3 separate regions of the Homo sapiens genome follow, and regions 1 and 3 are each linked to region 2. The links are contacts of gene promoters, found by promoter capture Hi-C in blood cells and fetal thymus (Javierre and others, 2016). All regions are on one chromosome and are shown on one strand. Each heading gives the region's core, a stretch centred on a gene start or on the middle of the fragment in contact. The rest is flanking DNA. Distances are from core to core; before and after follow the strand shown. Region 1 overlaps COL1A1 (collagen type I alpha 1 chain). Region 2 holds the start of RSAD1 (radical S-adenosyl methionine domain containing 1). Region 3 has its middle 17 kb from the start of MIR8059.

What was found. The method cuts DNA at HindIII sites, captures the fragments that hold promoters and counts their contacts. A CHiCAGO score of 5 or more calls a contact.
Region 1: a contact is called between a fragment that was not itself captured here and the fragment with the promoter of RSAD1 in region 2, in 2 of 17 cell types (M0 macrophages and megakaryocytes). The highest score is 7.6, in M0 macrophages.
Region 3: a fragment that was not itself captured here is called in contact with the fragment with the promoter of RSAD1 in region 2 in 1 of 17 cell types (erythroblasts); the score reaches 5.8 in erythroblasts.

The regions. Positions count from the first base shown.
Region 1 is chr17:50,194,309-50,196,808 of GRCh38, forward strand. It overlaps COL1A1 (collagen type I alpha 1 chain), which reads right to left. Exons shown (of 51, transcript NM_000088.4): 12 at 2,309-2,362; 13 at 2,176-2,220; 14 at 2,006-2,059; 15 at 1,847-1,891; 16 at 1,615-1,668; 17 at 1,259-1,357; 18 at 1,126-1,170; 19 at 924-1,022; 20 at 739-792; 21 at 413-520; 22 at 265-318; 23 at 41-139. Among named protein-coding and RNA genes, the nearest start is that of COL1A1, 6.1 kb to the right of the region's middle. RefSeq lists an enhancer at 2,033-2,500. The HindIII fragment of the contact is 9,239 bases long and covers 1-2,500 here.
Region 2 is chr17:50,477,068-50,481,540 of GRCh38, forward strand. RSAD1 (radical S-adenosyl methionine domain containing 1) reads left to right here and starts at 1,793. Exons shown (of 9, transcript NM_018346.3): 1 at 1,793-1,952; 2 at 2,562-2,695; 3 at 2,813-3,017. The coding sequence starts at 1,818. RefSeq lists silencers at 1,559-2,048, 2,620-3,006. The HindIII fragment of the contact is 15,448 bases long and covers 1-4,473 here.
Region 3 is chr17:50,783,264-50,787,736 of GRCh38, forward strand. No RefSeq gene overlaps it. Among named protein-coding and RNA genes, the nearest start is that of MIR8059, 17 kb to the left of the region's middle. The HindIII fragment of the contact is 3,784 bases long and covers 967-4,473 here.

The DNA.
Region 1 (2,500 bases), core at 1-2,500, 280 kb before region 2:
CAGGGCCTGGCCAAGCCAGGCTGAAAGCCTGGGGCCTCACCTTGGCACCAGGCAGACCAGCTTCACCGGGACGACCAGCTTCACCAGGAGATCCTTTGGGGCCAGCAGGGCCAGGAGAACCACGTTCACCAGCGGGACCCTGGTTGGGGGAAGTCACAGGAACAGTTAGGGTCTCAAGTTTGTGGCTCTTTGCCACGGGCCAAAAGAGGAAGAAGATGCCCAGGGAGCGGCAGGGTCAGCCCCCCGGCCGCAAGGAGAGGTTACCTTGGGACCAGCAACACCATCTGCGCCAGGGAAACCACGGCTACCAGGTCCACCCTGCAGGAGGAGAGGAGGCCAGTGAACTCCGCGACACACAGGCACCAGCCAGGCAATGAGGGTGGAGCGGGAGGGGGCGGGCAGGGACACTTACACGCTCGCCAGGGGGTCCGGGCAGGCCAGTGGGTCCGGGTTCACCTCGAGCTCCTCGCTTTCCTTCCTCTCCAGCAGGGCCAGGGGGTCCTTGAACACCAACAGGGCCCTGGAGAGGGCCGAGAGGAGGAGGCGGCCTGTGGTGAGGGGCCATCCTGTGCCAGCCTCAGAGCCGGCTGAGGCTGGGCCTCCAGTGTCAGGGGTTCCTGGGGGTGTGGCAGGGACTCCCCCAGAAGACTAGGGGCTCCTCTTCCTTTCTGGATTTCCCTCAGGGGGCTCCTAGGGCAGGGTGGGCTGGGCTGCAAGAAGGATGGCGGGGAGACTTACAGGCTCTCCCTTAGCACCAGTGTCTCCTTTGCTGCCAGGAGCACCAGGTTCACCCTGCAAGGGGGGAGAAGAGGATGAGCTGAGAGTCGGGGGCGCTCAGTTGGCCTGCGTCTTCCTGCTCCCCAGATGAGAGCCGCACTGGAGCCAGTGCATGGGGTGGGCAGAAGGGAGAGTTTGGTACTCACGCTGTTACCCTTGGGACCAGGAGGGCCGCCGGGGCCCTGGGGTCCAGAGGGGCCTCGGGCACCAGGGAAGCCAGGAGCACCAGCAATACCAGGAGCACCCTGTGGGAGGCAGACAGCCAGGGCGTGAGCCTAGGAGCAGAGGGAAAGGGGCAGGCAGGCTGCAGGCGGCAGGAGTGGGACTGAAGCCTGGCAGGATACTTACATTGGCACCTTTAGCACCAGGCTGTCCATCAGCACCAGGGTTTCCCTGTGGCACAGAGAAAGGAGTGTCAGCAACAGGCAAGGACTCTGAGGTTAGAAAGTGGCAAAGGGGACACTGAGTCGGGGACACTTACAGCAGGGCCAGCAGCACCAGCAGGGCCAGGGGGGCCAGGCTCACCACGCACACCCTGGGGACCTTCAGAGCCTCGGGGCCCTTGGGGACCAGCTTCACCCTGAATCAGAAGAAAGGACATATCAGAAGCCACCCTGGGAAACCCAACCTTGCCTCTCGGGATGGCAGGAGGAAGGGGAGACAGGGACAGGAGAGCAATGATCAGGACTCTAAGATCAGAGACGGAGAACCCAGGACAAAGGTGTTAGTGAACGGGCTGCTCTCTTGCCACTCTGGGTCCCTTTGGTTTGGGGAACAGGGAGACATGAACCCCTTGGCCCATGAGGGTCATGCTTAGAGGAGAGTGGGGGGTCTCACCTTAGCACCAACAGCACCAGGGAAGCCAGGAGGACCAGCGGGGCCGGTGGGACCCTGTGAATGAAATGGAGATGTCAGCGAGAAGGAAGAGATGGCAGCTGCAAGTCACACCCTGGGACAGAGGAAGTCCTGGGGTTCAGACCAACATAACCTGCTCCCATTGTCAGCCCCAAGAGCAGATACTGAGACCCCTCCCCACTCCCAGGCCCTGAGGCCTACAGGCCACACTCACAGGGGGCCCGGCAGCACCAGTAGCACCATCATTTCCACGAGCACCCTGCAGGAGAGAGGGGAAGCCCCGTTAAGTCCACTGAGCACTGGCCAGTCCCTAGAGTTCCTGGGGAGCCCCTTCCAGAGCTCAGGGATCCCCCAAGGGGCCAGGAGTACTTACAGCAGGGCCAGGGGCTCCAGGGCGACCTCTCTCACCAGGCAGGCCACGGGGGCCCTGACAACCAAACCAAGAGAAGTCAGATGAGATGGGAGACAGCCTTGTTCCCCCAGGCCTCCATCTTGCCCCTGCCTCCTGCCCCATCCCTGCCCTCTGGAACTGGGCACACTCACCATCTGACCAGGAGCTCCATTTTCACCAGGGCTGCCAGGCTCACCCTGTAGATCAGAGAATAATGAGTGAGAAATTCATTCATGGTGGGACTCTGGGGATGTGGAGGACCATGATGTTCAGACAGCCTCTTACCTTAGGACCAGCAGGACCAGCATCTCCCTTGGCACCATCCAAACCACTGAAACCCTAAAGCAGGAAAGAGGTAGAAGGTAAGAACCTGTGGAGGGGGTGGAACAGCCTTGACATCCACCTAGATCTGAGAAAGAGCCTTGGGAGGTCATCACCGCCATCCCTTTGTTTCTGAGCTAGACTAAACCCCAACTG
Region 2 (4,473 bases), core at 543-3,042:
CTGGTCTTGAACTTCTGACCTCAGGTGATCCACCCGCCTCGGCCTCCCAAAGTGTTGTGATAACAGGCATGGGCCACCACGCCCAGCCAGCCAGACTTGTACTGAAGCTGAGGGACCCCAGAAACCAGCCCGCCCTGTTTTTCGTTTGTTTGTTTGTTTGTTTGATACAGAGTCTCACTCTGTCTCCCAGGCTGGAGTGCAGTGTCGCCATCTGGGCTCACTGCAACTTCCGCCTCCCAGGTTCAAGCAATTCTCCTGCCTCAGCCTCCCGGGTAGCTGGGACTACTGGCACGCACCACCACACCTGGCTAGTTTTTTGTATTTTTAGTAAAAACGGGGTTTCACCGTGTTAGCCAGGATGGTCTCAATCTCCTGACCTTATGATCCGCCCGCATCGGCCTCCCAAAGTGCTGGGATTACAGGAGTAAGCCACCGCGCCCGGCTTCTGCCCTGGGCTTTATACCCTGGGGCCATGTGACATGTTGGGCTGAAGTGTTGAAGGACATGCTTTTTCTAGGGGGACTGGAACAGAGCATGGCTGTGCTGGCCAGTCCTTCCTTCCCTCAGGATGTTGCATTCTCTGCACACTCTACAGTTTTATTTATTTATTTATTGAGACAGTCTTGCTCCATCACCCAGGCTGGAGTGCAGTGGCACTGTCTCAGCTCACTGCAACCTCCGCCTCCCAGGTTCGAGGGATTCTCCCTGCTCAGCCTCCCGTGTAGCTGGGATTACAGGTGCCCACCACCACGCTTGGATAATTTTTGTATTTTTGGTAAAGACGGGGTTTCAGCATGTTGGCTAGGCTGGTCTTGAACTTCTGATCTCAAGTGATCTGCCCGCCTCGGCCTCCCAAAGTGCTGGGATTACAGGCGTCTACAGTTATTCTTGAGAACTACAAGCAAGAAAGGAGGGGAGAACCAGGTCAGTTCAAGGCCACTGGGAGAACTGTCCTGCACCGCCTGCCTCTGAAGCCCATGATGTTTCTGCTTTGTGGGACAGTTGTTCAGGTGCCTGCTTCCCCAGGCCTTCCCCTGCGCCTTCCCCCTCTCTCCTACACACACCATCTGACTGTCCTTCCAGCACGTACACCTCCAGATGCTTGGGTTGGCCTGACCCAAAACAGTCTACTCTCCCGGCCAAGCCAATTGCCCCTGGGATTTTCTGCTCCTCCAAGATCCCGTGCATAGCCCTGGTGGTGGCTCATGCCCTTAATCCTTAGTTACTCTAGATGCTGAGGCAGGAGGATCGCTTGAGGCCGAGGAGTTCAAGACCTCCCCTCTCCCAAATATTTGTAAATGAAATTAAAAGAAAGATCCAGCCCAAGTGTCTCTTCTGCCCTACTGACTCCCACACTCTTAAAACAGATGACCTCACAGCACTGAGGCGGACGGCTCTGGTGTCCAGCAGGCACGGAATTAATACGCCTTGCCTGTCCTGGCCGGTTGGCTTGCCTCTCTCCTGCCAGAATGCAACCTGGCTTTATGCACCTAGATGTCCCCAGCGCCCAGTTCTGAGCCAGGCACATCAAATGTCAAGGAATTGACTGAACAAACTAAGAGCTCCTGGATGGGTCCGGGAACTCGCCCGGGCACAAGGTGCCAAAAGGCAAGCAGCCCGCCTCGCGGCCTGGGGAAAGAACCGACAGGAGGCCGCAGTGAGCGCCCGGGCGCCCGGCAGGTGGCGCCGCAGCCCCGGGCCCGGGCCCTCTTGTCGCGCGGTCACGCAGCCCCTCTTCCTTCCGCCGGCTGCGCACTCACAGTGATCCCTGCGCGCGTCTCCTGCTCGGGTCAGTGCGCCGCGCTGCGCTGGGCGCCATGGCGCTCCCCGGAGCCCGGGCTCGCGGCTGGGCGGCAGCAGCCAGAGCGGCCCAGAGGCGCCGCCGCGTGGAGAACGCAGGAGGGTCCCCGAGTCCTGAGCCTGCGGGCCGGCGCGCGGCGCTTTACGTACACGTGAGTAGGGGCGGGGGCGGAGCCCACGGTGTGTGGCCGCAGCCCTGGCCGTGACCGTGGCCGTCCAAAACCCAGGTGGCGGTTTGTCACTCTATGAACCCGCCTGCCGTGTTTCCGTGCCCCCGTACGAGGTCTGGGATGGGACCCTGTGCTTTGGCAGGGAAATGACTTGGTCCAGAAACCTGAAGTCTCTGCTACTCACCGGCTCGGTGACTCTGACCAAATGGTTCAAATTTCATAACAATTTTCCTCTTAGCAAGACAAAATTTTCTTAAGAGCAGTGTTCTGACTCGGTAGCTGGGAAAATGGCTCATAGGAAAATTGTATGAAAATTATATGATCCCAGAAAGAGCTTGGGTTGAATTCCTTCCTGACGTCTGCTGGTTGGAAGAGGCAGCGTAACAAAGGAGTGAGCCTCAGTTTTCTCACATTGAAGTGGATGTAATAACCCCAGTGCGACCTGCCTTGGGGAGTTGTGTGGCTTAGATGTCCTAGCTACTGTGGAAAGACCTCGGGATAGGGGTGGGGGTGGGGTTGGGGGTGTGTGCGACTGAACCCTGGAAGTGGCCAGGGCAGCTCTCACCGCGCACGTGCACTCACTGCCCCCAGTGGCCTTACTGCGAGAAGCGCTGCAGTTACTGCAACTTCAACAAGTACATCCCTCGCCGCCTGGAGGAGGCTGCCATGCAGAAGTGTCTGGTGACCGAAGCTCAGACGCTGCTGCGGCTCAGCGGGGTGCAACGGTGGGTAGTGGGGGCTGTAGGCAGCGTTTTGGGAAATATTTGGAGGAGTGGTGGGGGATAGGTGCAGGCATCCCAGAGGGCTCCCCCAGGTCTCATTTCTCCATTCTCTTTCCCCAGGGTGGAGTCTGTGTTCTTTGGTGGGGGGACCCCCAGTCTAGCCAGTCCCCACACGGTGGCTGCTGTCCTGGAGGCTGTGGCACAGGCAGCCCACCTGCCTGCAGACTTGGAAGTCACATTGGAGGCTAATCCTACTTCAGCTCCGGGCTCCAGACTGGCAGAGTTCGGGGCAGCAGGGGTTAACAGGTTGTCTATAGGCCTCCAGGTAACCCATGGCACTCACCCCATCCCAGTGCACCCCGCCCTTCAGTGCCATCTCCTCTTTGGTCACATTCATTCATTGGGCAAACATTGATTGAGCACCTTCTGGGTGCCAGGGACACAGTAGGGCCTAGTGCGACACTTTTATAACTCCTTAATTGTCTGCTGCTGTCATAGACCACAGACTTTATGAGAAAGGGATCAGGTGTGGCTTTTCTATTTCAAACACTTACCATAGTGCCTGGCACATAGTAGGTGGTCAAAAAAGATTTGCTACATGACACGGGAGACGCAGACATGTAGCCAGATTATTGCAGCATGGTAAATGTCACCTGTAAAGGGGGTCTCTATAAAAGGCTTCTAGAGTACAGCCTGAAGGGAGGTCACTCTGATGAAATCACTGAAACTTCTCTGGAGGAGATGTTTGAATGAAGAGGAAGAGTTCACCAGGTGAGGGGGTGTGGGGGAAACGACACAGGCCATGGAAGAGCCTGGCATGTTTTGGGGGAGTTGTGAGTCATTCCTTGTGATTGGAGAGGCTGGAAACAAGGTTGCAAGGTAGAGTCCAAAACCTTTGGTGCCTACTAAGGAGTGTGGGTTTTGTCCTAGTAATGATAGGGAGCCATTGAAGGTTTTTAAGTAGGGAGAAACCTAGTCGTCTCAGGTTGACCTCCGATATTTCCGTAGGACTTCCGGGTTGTGGGCTTTGTTCTGATGGAATATGCTGACAGAAACACATCACTTCTAAGATATTCTTACCCCAAAGCGCATATCTTGAATCTAATTGTCAGGAAACCCTGAATTAAGAGATTTTTACAAAATTATTGTGGTAAGAACAGACAGCATGAGATCTACCGTCTTAACAAGTTTTTAAATGTACATACAGCACTGTTAACTATAAGCACAGTGTTATACAGCCAATCTGTAGAAATTATTCATTTTAAATAATTCATTTAAATAATTATAATTCGTAAATAATAATAATTTATTTAAATTCATTAAATTATTCATTTTAAACAACTGGCCTGTATTCTTCAAAAATGCCAGTGTCATGAGAGACAAAGAAAGGCTGAGAATCTAAAGGAGACAGAAGAGACAGCTGAATACAATGTGTGGCCCCTGACTGGGGAGGAAGGAGGAAATTACTACAGTAGATGTTATTGGGACCATTAGCCAAATTTGAATATGACAATGTATTATGTAATGGTGTTGTGTCAGTGTTGCATTTCCTGAACTCTGTAATTGGATTGCAGTTATGTAAGAGAATGTCCTTGTTCTTTAGGAAATACACACCTAAGTATTTAGAGGTTAGGGAGTATAATATCTATAACTGCTATTCAATATAGTGGCCACTAGCCACAGACTAGTGAGCATTTGAAATGTGGTAAGTTAAGTTTAATTCACTTAAATTTAAATAACCACATGTGGCTACTACCTATCATATTGGACAGTACAGATAT
Region 3 (4,473 bases), core at 1,609-4,108, 310 kb after region 2:
CTGCCATTCCCATGCAAGGCCACTGGGCAGGGCAGGTCCGCACCACCGAGTTGCCATTCTCCGTGTGTCCACCAGGGGCCGCCCCACTCCTGCCTGAGCTTCCTCCAAGAACCTGCATTTTTAATTCAGTCCCTCCCTGGTCTCCCATCTCTCCCAGCACCACCTTTGGGTGTAAAGCCGCAGAGCAGTATTCCTGGTTATCCAAGGAGTCCATAAACTGTCCTGTGGGAAATCAGCCCAATGCACCCTGGCTCCCTCATTCAGCAACTGTGTTGTAGTTTTCTTGTCTGCAAAAAGAAAATAATAATTTCCACCTCACTTAGAAAGAATATGTAGGCTGGGCATGGTGGCTCATGCCTGTAATCCCAGCAATTTGGGAGACCAAGGCGGGCGGATCACTTGAGGCCAGCAGTTTGAGACCAGCCTGGGCAACATGGCGAAACACCGTCTCTAGTGAAAATACAAAAATTAGCCAGGCGTTGTGACACATACCTATGATCCCAGTTACTCCAGAGGCTGAGCTTGCAGTGAGCTGAGACCGCACCACTGCACTCCAACCTGGGCAACCAAGTGAGACCCTGTCTCAAAAACAAAACAAAACAAACAAAAACAGAAAGAAATAATATATAGTTCGGGAGCCTGAGGCACGAGAATCACCTGAACCTGGGAGATGGAGGTTGCAGTGAGCTGAGATGGCACCACTGCACTCCAGCCTGGGCAACAGAGTGAGACTGTCCAAAAAGAAAAAGAAAAAGAAAAGAAAAGAAAAAAGAAAAATAAATAATATATAGTGTTCAGCAATGTGCCTGGTATACAGTAGGTGCCTAATAAAAGCAAGTCACTTTACAAGAGTTCAAAGTCCGTCCCTCCACAACTCTCCCTAAAGCTCTCCAGGCCTGTCTGTTTTCTTAGGTAATGGGTTGGCACCCAGGTTACATGGGGGTGAGATCTCCTTGTAGGGGCACAAGCTTCATGGGTTACAAAGTCAGAAGTGTGAATGTTTCTATTTTCTATAATTGACTTGGATTTCCACCTCCATTTCCCATGTTGCACGATGTGGAAACATTTTTATTACAGAATTCAGGGTTTCCTCAGTCAATTCTTTTTTTTCTGCGACGGAGTCTTGCTCTGTCACCCAGGCTGGAATGCAGTGGTGCGATCTCTGCTCACTGCAACCTCTGCCTCCTGGGATCAAGTGATTCTCCTGCCTCAGCCTCCCGAGTAGCTGGGATTACAGGCATGTGTCACCATACCTGGCTAATTTTTGTATTCTTAGTAGAGACATGGTTTCACCATGTTGGCCAGGCTCGATTCCAACTCTTGACCTTGTGATCCACCCGCCTTGGCCTCCCAAAGTGCTGGGACTACAGGTGTGAGCTACCACGCCTGGCCTCTTCAGTCAATTCTAAGTTTTTGCCTCCCCCTTTGCCCTGGGGTCCCAGCTAATGGTGTCAGCAGGGAGAGGGCTCTGATCTTGGTCGTTCTCGTTTTCTCTGCTGGTATCTGTAAAGATGGTCTCTGGCCCTATCGGGCATCATTTGCTGATTTCCGTTCTCACTGGATTCATTACTGCCCGTGTCCATCCCATCAGCATTCACCATGAGGGCCCGCGGCCCACCTGGCCTCCTTGTTATACCATCCTGATCCTGAGCTTCATGTGGTCCCAGAACCCTCTCTCAGCCACTTCAATGGGAAACTGTGGGGAGGGGTTTGTCTCAGGCCCTCTCTGCCCAGACAAGCCACAGCAGCATGTCTCCTTACGTGTAGAGACATGAGGGTGTTCTGGGAGATGGTACCTCAGTGCCTTCACCAGGAAGTGCCTTCACCACTGCGCCCCTCTACTCCCTGAGCTCTGCAGTGCCCCTACTGCAGCCCAGACAACAGGGCTGGAGTGGGGAGGAGAGAGCCATCGTGTGATCAGTGTTTTTACTGAGGCAAGGACCTCAACTTTGAAGCTAGTATCCAAGACCTAGCTCCACTGGCTTCTCTTCATTTCTTCTGAAACATTCCTGCCCCAAGGACATCCTTGCTGCCACCTGCATTGGGGCGGGGCGGTATGACATGCTAGAGAAAGAAGCCTGGTTAACATTTCCTAATCTAGCTTGGCACATCTTTTGCCCTGTTTTCAGGGTACTCCTAGTACAGACTGACACATGCCCGCCCCATAGCACCCTAGGGAAGTTTATGCTCCCAGTAATGAGTAGGGCAGAGCCAAGGTGGTGGATGAGGTTTTCTGAGGGTTGGTACTCAGCCCCTTCTGGGAGGGGAGACGATCCTGGTTGTAAACAATAGAAAACAACCCTGGTTAACTATAGCCCAAAAATAATTTTCTGGAATGATGATGGATGGTTCATAGAGTCACAGGGTAAACTGGAACCAGCCTGACAAATTGGGCAGGAACCCAGAAGGCTGGGAGGCAGAATCACAGGGAGGGTCTTATGAGGACAATCATGCCAACCTCACAACCATCACTGCCCTTTGATGGTGGCAGCTGGGACCCCAACATTAGAGGAGTGACACCTCAATGGTCCCAGCTTCTCAATAACCCTCAGTCAGTGTCAAAGTCCTAGGCAGGATGAACCAAGGCTGAGTTCCCAAGCACCCCCTGCAGGAATTGGATCTTTGGCCCCCTTAGGCTTCCATAGGGGGAACACTGCCTCCAGCCCATCTTGAGATTTGTATCCTCCCCTCTCGATTGGTATTTGGATGACAAGCAACTAAAATCAGCAAATGCACACATCTCTCTAATTTCCCTGAATGTGCATTTGCCAAGAGGCAGTTTCAAACCTGCCTCATTTGAGCAGTCTACTCAGAGTGCTGTTTGTTTATGCCACTCGGAGAGCTTGCCAAATACAGTGAAGTCATCTGAACAGCCTGAGCGCTTCCAGATAAATACATTGGCCTCCTTTCCATGGCCCCCATAGTAGCTAACATGTACTGAACAGTGGGCCAGGCACTGAGCTCAGCGCTCTACCTGGAGGATTGCCTTGGGCCTTACTGCCATTTTTCCAAGGAAGAGACTGAGGCCCAGTGGTTTACTAGCTTTCCCCAGTTCACACAGGTCTAGATGGGAATAACAGGGACTTGACCCCACACAGCCTGTCGGGCCCTGCTCCCTGGTGATCTAATGGAGCAGACGTTAAACCAATAACCACAGGATTACGTACGTGATTAAAAGGAGCACTGGAAAGGGAAAGAACAGGGTAGGAGGAGGGAGGATGGCAGAGAAGACAATTCATAGGGGTGGGGTGGGTGGGGGTCCCGGGAAGGCCTCTGGAAGAACATTTAAGCTGTGACCCAAATGATGGATTTAGCCAGGCCAAGAGCGAGGGGAAAGAGGCAGTGGCAAGTACCGAGACCTCTGAGGCAGGAGAGAGGGGAATGTGTTCGGGGGATGAAAACAAGGGCCAATGCAGCGGGAGCAGAGGGAGCTGGGGATTTCTGGGTGGGGCCATCAGGCAGGGCCAGGCTGAGCCTTGGTGTTCTTCAGCTCAGAACCCCTCACCTCCTCTCACTGACCCCCACCCCATCCTCTGAGATCCGACCTCACAGCATAGTCAGATCCAACCTCTTCTCCCCACCTCCGCTGCGGCCACCCTAGTCTGATTATTGCAATATCCCCTCCCATTCCCACTGGTCTCCCTGCTTCTGCACCGCCCCCATATCTCTTCTTTCTCAGCAATAAAGTGATCCTTTTAGCATGGAAGTCAGAGCTTGCCAGGCCTCTGCTTCTCATTTTGCTTAGAGTAAGTGCCTAAGTCTTGCAATGGTCTACAAAGCCCTCCACAGTCTGGATCCCAGGAGCTCCTGCAACGTGGTCCCCTCTCTCACTTGGCTGTAGCCCCACTGGCCCTGTGCTCCTTCTCAAGTACACCAGGCAAGCCCCTATCTGGAAGGAGGGCCTTTGCACTGCCCGTTCCCTTGGCCCGGAATGTTCTTTCCTCACATATCCATGGGTCTCTCATCCTTCAGCAGGCCTGCCCGGGCATGTTCTCATAGTGGAGCTCAGGGCAAGAACAGATGGAGATGCTAAGCCCTCTTCTGCCTGCCTCCGGTCTGCTAACATCCTGCTGGCCACAGCAAGCACGTGGCTGAGCCCAGAGTCTGAGTGGGAGGGCACCAGGATGGTAGATGCACACGGTAAAGACACAGGGAGTAAAGCACTGGGGCCCTTGCACACATGATTACAGCCCCTTGATCTGAGCTCCAAATCCCAGGCCTCCTCCTGCACAGCGACCTGCCACCATCAGTAACTCTCTCCACCAGCCACCATCCCATTTTCATTCAGCAAACATTTGTGGAGCACCTGCAGTGTGCAGGCCCTGTTCTAGACACTGTGAGGCAGCTGCACATAAAGTAGACGAAGGCCCTGCCCTTTTAAAGTTTTGTTTTGTTTTTTTTTCTTTTTTTTTTTTTTCGAGACAGAGTCTCTCTCTGTCGTCCAGGCTGGAGTGCAGTGGTGCGACCTCGGCT